Linked DNA regions of Homo sapiens: region 1 is linked to region 2. The links are contacts of gene promoters, found by promoter capture Hi-C in human tissues and cell types (Jung and others, 2019). All regions are on one chromosome and are shown on one strand. The core of a region is centred on a gene start or on the middle of the fragment in contact, and the rest is flanking DNA. Distances in the headings are between cores, read along the strand shown. Region 1 overlaps EYA2 (EYA transcriptional coactivator and phosphatase 2). Region 2 holds the start of EYA2 (EYA transcriptional coactivator and phosphatase 2).

Region 1 (3,268 bases), core at 48-2,547, 210 kb after region 2:
CCATATGCCAACCTCTGTAGCTCTGATTGGCCAGCCAAATCAAGAGCCCACTCCTGGCATGGGAAAGGAGGGGCAGATCAGCTCCACCTCAACCAAATAGAGTGAGAGAGGGAGGATGGTCCCCCAAAGGAAACTGGAGTAATCCTTCCAGAAGAGTATGAAGGCCCATGGATGTCCAGTGAATGGGCACTGGATGCCAAGATCCCCTGAACATCCATGACAAGAACCAGCAGCACTTTGCTTGTGGCCATCATGCTGCATACCATGCAGGAAGCCAAAATCATTAATAGTACCAGCCAGAGTGGGGACTTGCTGTTTTTTGGGGGAACTAAGCCCAACAAAGCTAAAATGATTGGGGAATGATTCAAAATAGGTTGTTTGAATTTTAAGACAGAAACTGGGCTCCCGTTCTGTTCCCAATCAAGGGATGTGCTGCTTGAGGCTGTCATCTCTTCACTTCCTTTCCATTTCTTCCTCCCCAGTGCTCAGAGCCAGAACATCCCTTTGGTAGCTGTATCTCCCAGCATCTTGTGGATCCATTAGAAATTCCCTAGAGAGCTGGAGCAGCCAGTGACTGCTGCCTCTTTCCTAACCCCTCCCTTCCCCTACCACCCTCCTCCGCAGTCTCTGAACTCTGTTTTTTTCCAGCTGGTATTAGGCAAATGCAAGGTGGTCAAGAGCCTTTGCCTGTGGCCAGGAAGGGATTCTAAAAGAAATTAGTCAGCTTTCCTCCAGGGATTCATGGGGAGTTGCCCTGACTCCTCCTTTTGTGCCTTGCCTTCTAGGCAGCCCACTACCAATATGAAGCTCAACTCCAGGACCTGTTGTTGTTGTTGTTGTTAATAACAATTTTATTGAGATACAATCTACATATCATAATTTACCCTTTCGATGTGTACAATTCAGTAATTTTTAGTATATTCACAGAGTTGTACAACCATCACCACTCTAATTTTAGAATATTTTCATCACCCCAAAAAGAAACCCTATACTCACTAGCAGTCACCCCTGCCATTTCCTTCTCCCCCTGGCCCCTGACAACCACTAATCTACTTTCTTTCTCTACAGATTTGCCTCTTCTGGATATTTCATATAAAGGGAATCACACAGTACGTGTGATCATCCGTGTTGTAGCATGTATCAGTACTCCATTCCTTTTTATGGCCACATAATTTTCCATTGTGTATTAGTCCATTTTCACATGGCTATAAACAAATATTCAAGACTGGGTAATTTATAAAGGAAATAGGTTAAATCATCTCACAGTTCTGCGTGGCTGGAGAGGCCTCAGGAAAGTTAACGAACATGGCAGAAGAGGAAGCAAACACTTCCTTCTTCACAAGGCAGTAGGAGAGAGAAAGTTCAGAGTGTAGGGGGAAGAGCCCCTTGTAAAACGATCAGACATAGTGACAACCCACCCACCCACCACAAGAACAGCATGGGGGAAACCACCCCTATGATCCAATCACCTCCCACGAGGTTCCTCCACCAACACAAGGGGATTACAATTTGGATTATGATTCAAGATGAGATTTGGGTGGGGACACAGAGCCAGACCATATCACAGTTCATGGATAAACTATATTTTGTCTATCCATTTATCAGTTGGATAGTTGAAGTTTGGGCCATTATGAATAATGCTGCTATGAACATTGGCATACAAGTATTTGCATGTGCATATGTTTTTAATTCTCTTAGGTATATGCCTAGGAGTAGAATTGCTGGGCCACATGGTAACTCTAGGTTTAATGCTTTTGAGGAACAGCCAGATTATTTTCCAAAGTGACTGTATCATTTTACCTTCCCATCAGCCATGTAAAATGGCTCCAATTTCTCCACATCCTCATCAATATGTTATTGTCTGCCTTTTTGGCTATAGTCCTAGTAAGTATGAAGTGGTATCTCATTGTGGGTTTGATTGGCATTTCCCTAATAATGTTGACAAGTGACTAGTGATGTTTTTATGTGCTTATTGGCCATTTGTATATCTTCTTTGGAAAAATATTTATTCAAATCTTTTGCTCATTTTTAATTGGTTTGTCTTTATATCATTATAAGAGTTTTTATATATCTGGATACCAGTCTATTATCAGATATGTGATTTGCAAATATTTTCTCTCTCATTCTGTGAGTTGTCTTTCCATTTTCTTTGTGGTATCCTTTGAAATACCAAGCTTTTTATTTTTATGAAGTGCAATTTATGTATATTTTCTTTGGTTACTTTTGCTTTTGGTGTCATATCTGAGACCCTATTGCCTAACCTAGGTCACAGAGATTTACTCCTGCACTTTTTTCTAAGAATTTTCTCATTTTAGCTCTTACATTTAGGTCTGTGATCCATTTTGAGTTAATTTGTGTGTATGATGTGAGGCAGGGGTGCAACCTCATTGTTTTACCTATGACTATCAAGTCGTCCCAGTAGCATTTGTTGAAAAGACTCTTCTTTCCCCTACTGAATTGTCTCAACATCCTGTCAGAAAATCAATTGGCAGCCAGGTGCAGTGGCTCACACCTGTAATCTCAGCACTCTGGGAGGTCCAGGCAGGTGGATTACATGAGGCCAGGAGTTCAAGACCAGCCTGGCCAACATGGTGAAACTCCATCTCTACTAAAAATACAAAAATTAGCCAGATGAGATGGTGCACGTCTGTAATCCCAGCTACTTGGGAGGCTTAGGCATGAGAATTCCTTGAACCCGGGAGGTGGAGGCTGCAGTGAACCAAGATCATGCCATTGCACTCCAGCCTGGGCGACAGAGCCAGACTCTATCTCAAAAATTTTTTTAAAAAATCAATTGGCCGTAAATATGTTTATTTCTTGACTCTTCATTTTATCCCATAGATCTGTATGTATGCCCTTATGCCAGTACCACACTGTCTTGATTACTGTAGCTTTGTAGTAAGTTTCAAAAATGGAAAGTAGGAGTCCTCCACCTTTGTTCTTATGACCAGTCTTGACCTTTATAATTGGCATCTCCATTGGTTTTATTTTTTGTGGTTTTAACATAGCCTTTGCACTTGCTGTTGTTCCCTGTGCCAGGAATGCCCATCTCCCCATTTTCTACATGGCTCCTTTATTCACGAATCTGCCCAGTGGCTGGGCGTGGTGGCCCATGCCTGTAATCCCAGCACTTTGGGAAGCTGAGGCAGGCAGATCACTTGAGGCCAGGAGTTCGAAACCAGCCTGTCCAACATGATGAAACCCTGTCTCTACTAAAAACACAAAAATTAGCTGGGCATGATGGCAGGCACCTGTAATCCCAGCTACT
Region 2 (3,055 bases), core at 377-2,876:
CAGCCACCTGACACCACCCTACTCAAGGGCAAGTTGGGGGTGGGGAATCGGAGTGGAAAGACAGCGGTGTCTACGGCCTGCAGCCAAATGTCCAAAGCAAAGGACTTTTGTAAACTTTACATCAACAAGCCACCATCTGAACACTTTTCTAAGTCCCCTTAGAAAGGGGTCCAAGCAAGTCAGGGGCCCAAGAACTTAACCTTCATCAGCTCCTGTAAACTTACAACTGGAATTGAAGACTGTTACGGCTCAAGAGCAACGGCTTTGGAGTCAGCCAGGCCTGAATTTCATTCCTGGCTCAGCCACTTTCTGCCTTCTTTGAGCTTGGACCTGCTCATTTGTGAAATGAGTGTGCTGACAGCAGCTACCTTGGGGTCTCTCTTGGGGATTACATGAGATAAGGAAGAGTTGGGCATTGGATGAGCTTAAGGTTGCAAATAAAAATATAGGACCCCCGGTTACATTGGAATTTCGGAGACAAAAGAAATACTTTTTAAATATAAGTACGTACAACCAATCGCATAAGACATATACTGCAACTGATTCCTCGTTTCTCTGAAATTCAAATTCACCTGGGTGCCCTGTCTTTTACTGCACTTAAGAAATGACAGTGGTTGATATTGCTTTTGGATTGAAGCATCCTGGGTGTCCCACGGTGGAATTCATAGACATTAGAGAGTGGGTGACGGGCTAGGAAAGGCTGCATAGACTCCAATTAACACAGTTCATTGCCAGGGAGACTAAAAGGGGGGTGGCTATGAGAGGATGGAGTAAGTGGGGTGCCTTGATTTGGGCATGTAGGTGGAGGGGGCTATACCTCTCACTTTCACTAAACCAGTTAAGCTCTTGAGACCTCAGTTTCCTTAGCTGTAAAATGGGTGAAACATAGGGGAGACCCCTGAACCGTTCTCACCTAAATACCACACCAATGGCACTTCCTCATAATTCAGATGTCACCTCCTCAGAGAGGTCTTCCCTGACTGCTCTAGCTAAAATTACCGCCTCTCCTCCACTCCCCAACAGCAGATACATATATTATTTTTCTCCCTGTAACTCTAACTTTCTGAAACTGTCTTGCTTCTTTACTTGGTTATTTGTTTATGGTTTGCCTCTCCATGTGAATGCAAGTTCCGGGAGGGCAGAAAACTAGTCTGTCTTGTTCTAGCTGAGTCTCTCAGGAGTGGTACCTGGCACAGTAGATGCTCAATATATTTTGAATGAATGAATGGGTGGTTGAGTGAACGAATGTTAGTGTCACTATTGAGGTCCTCTCCGAGCCGTCGTTCCTTTCACAGGGGTCATGCCTGGGTTGCAGGGAGGATGTGCTGCCCCGGGGAGGGAGGAGGTGCGGGGTGTCGGTGGGTGGGGAGGAGGCTGGGCCCTGGCCTCCAGGACCGGCGAGAGTGAGCGCGCTCTGCTCGGCTGCAGGCTCAGGAAGCGGCGCGGCGGCACGTGCTGGGCCAGAGCCCCGCGCCCTGCGTCCAGCCGCCGGGTGTGTGCGCCCGCGTAGCCCAGCGTCGCGCCTCGGCGCCCCCACGCGCCCACGCAGCGGCGCGGGGACCCGGGCGGGGGCAGAGGGAGGGCCCGGCCCAGGGAGGAGAAGGGGCCGGTCCTCCCGGCGCAGGCAGCAGCCGCGGCAGCCCAGGAGGCGGAGGCAGCGGCAACGGCAGAGACAGCAACGTGCCCGCCGCAGTCAGCCCGGCCTCGTCGGACCCGCACCGGCCCGCCCGCCCGCCCGCACCGCGTCGGGGCGCCCTCTCCACTGCGCGCGGTGAGTACCGCCAGCGGCGCCCACCCCAGGCCGCCCGCCGGGATTCGCCGGGCGGGGGGAGTTGTTCACCGGGACCCCCTCGCCCTGCGCCTCTTTCTGGCACTCGCCAAGCGGGGCCTCCGCAGCTGTCGGGACGTTCTGGGGCGCACGGGCCTCCCAGGGCCAGGAAGGCACAAGGGCAGAGGGGACAGCAGCAGAGCCCCCCTCTGGAAAGGCTCTCCCAGGCTCGGGGCCCCAGTTTCCCCATGCGCTTTGGGGCAACGACCCTGAAGTTTGCTCTCCCGCGCGCGGGACAAGTGCATGGCGCGCAGGCGGTGTAGACGCGGCTGGGTCCTTGGCGTTTTGTTCGATTATGGTCCCGGCGGTTCGCGATAAGGGGCGCTCCCCCAGTCCGCAAACTCAAGCCCTCAGGTAGTGTTTATGGGATAACCAAGAAGCAGAGCCAACCGCTGGAATCCCGGCTTGGGGCTGGAACGGCCCGCTGAGACTTTGCCTTCTAGCTATTGATATATTTCTTTTCAAAAGTCCGTTTGCGCTCGGCCCGCTCTGGTTCAGGTCTGGGGCTTTGAACCGGGGCAGGGAATCCTGGCGCCTGCTGCGGGTAGAGTTGAAACTTAGAAAAGTTTACATCCGAAGGGTGTTTAGAAGGCGGCAAGGATTTCGTTGTAATGGGAGAAAGTGGGAAATGGAATTGTTTTTTAGTCATGAAGTCTGGAGGTTAAACGGCCGTGCTGGCCCAGGCTCCTTCAATATATTCCTGCCTGCCTCCCCCCCAGCAATAAATAGTTTATAAGCTCAAGGAATACTAGGAAAGCGTGACTGGTGAACGTACTCCTATCGCAAAAGACTCAGTGCGCTTTTCTCAGCTGTTGAACTGGAAGCGCCTTTTGCAGTGCGAGGTTCCTGCTTCCCCGAAGCCGAGGCTGAGAGTTGACAGCGTGCACCCTGCCGCGGTCTGAATTCTTTTTAAAAAGCAAGACCGATGCTGCGTTTTTATGGATACCCTTTTCTTTTCTTTCCCCTTCCCCGAAATGCTATGTAATCTTCAATTACTTTTTAAAATATAACGTGGAGGTATAAATCACCCCGGTAAGAGGTACCTTTTAATTACGAGGTGCAGTGGAAGAGCTGAACATTGGAATCTAGCTGTTAGCGAGGGCGGAGGGGCAGGAGGATGATTTACAAACATCATGTAAGAATTTGAGCACTGAATTATGTTTGAGTTAGGGAGATCCCTTACAAAGGAAATTATAACCAGTGGACAATTGTATTTCAAACCGAATC

The links. Contacts are between HindIII fragments. The study calls those that stand out against the background at their distance.
Region 1: a contact is called between a fragment that was not itself captured here and the fragment with the promoter of EYA2 in region 2, in 3 of the 25 tissues and cell types used here (H1 embryonic stem cells, dorsolateral prefrontal cortex and mesendoderm cells).

Annotation. Positions count from the first base shown.
Region 1 is chr20:47,102,249-47,105,516 of GRCh38, forward strand. All of the region lies in intron 9 of EYA2 (EYA transcriptional coactivator and phosphatase 2), which reads left to right. Among named protein-coding and RNA genes, the nearest start is that of MIR3616, 63 kb to the right of the region's middle. The HindIII fragment of the contact is 6,554 bases long and covers 1-3,268 here.
Region 2 is chr20:46,893,217-46,896,271 of GRCh38, forward strand. It overlaps EYA2 (EYA transcriptional coactivator and phosphatase 2), which reads left to right and starts at 1,627. Exons shown (of 16, transcript NM_005244.5): 1 at 1,627-1,771. The HindIII fragment of the contact is 22,949 bases long and covers 1-3,055 here.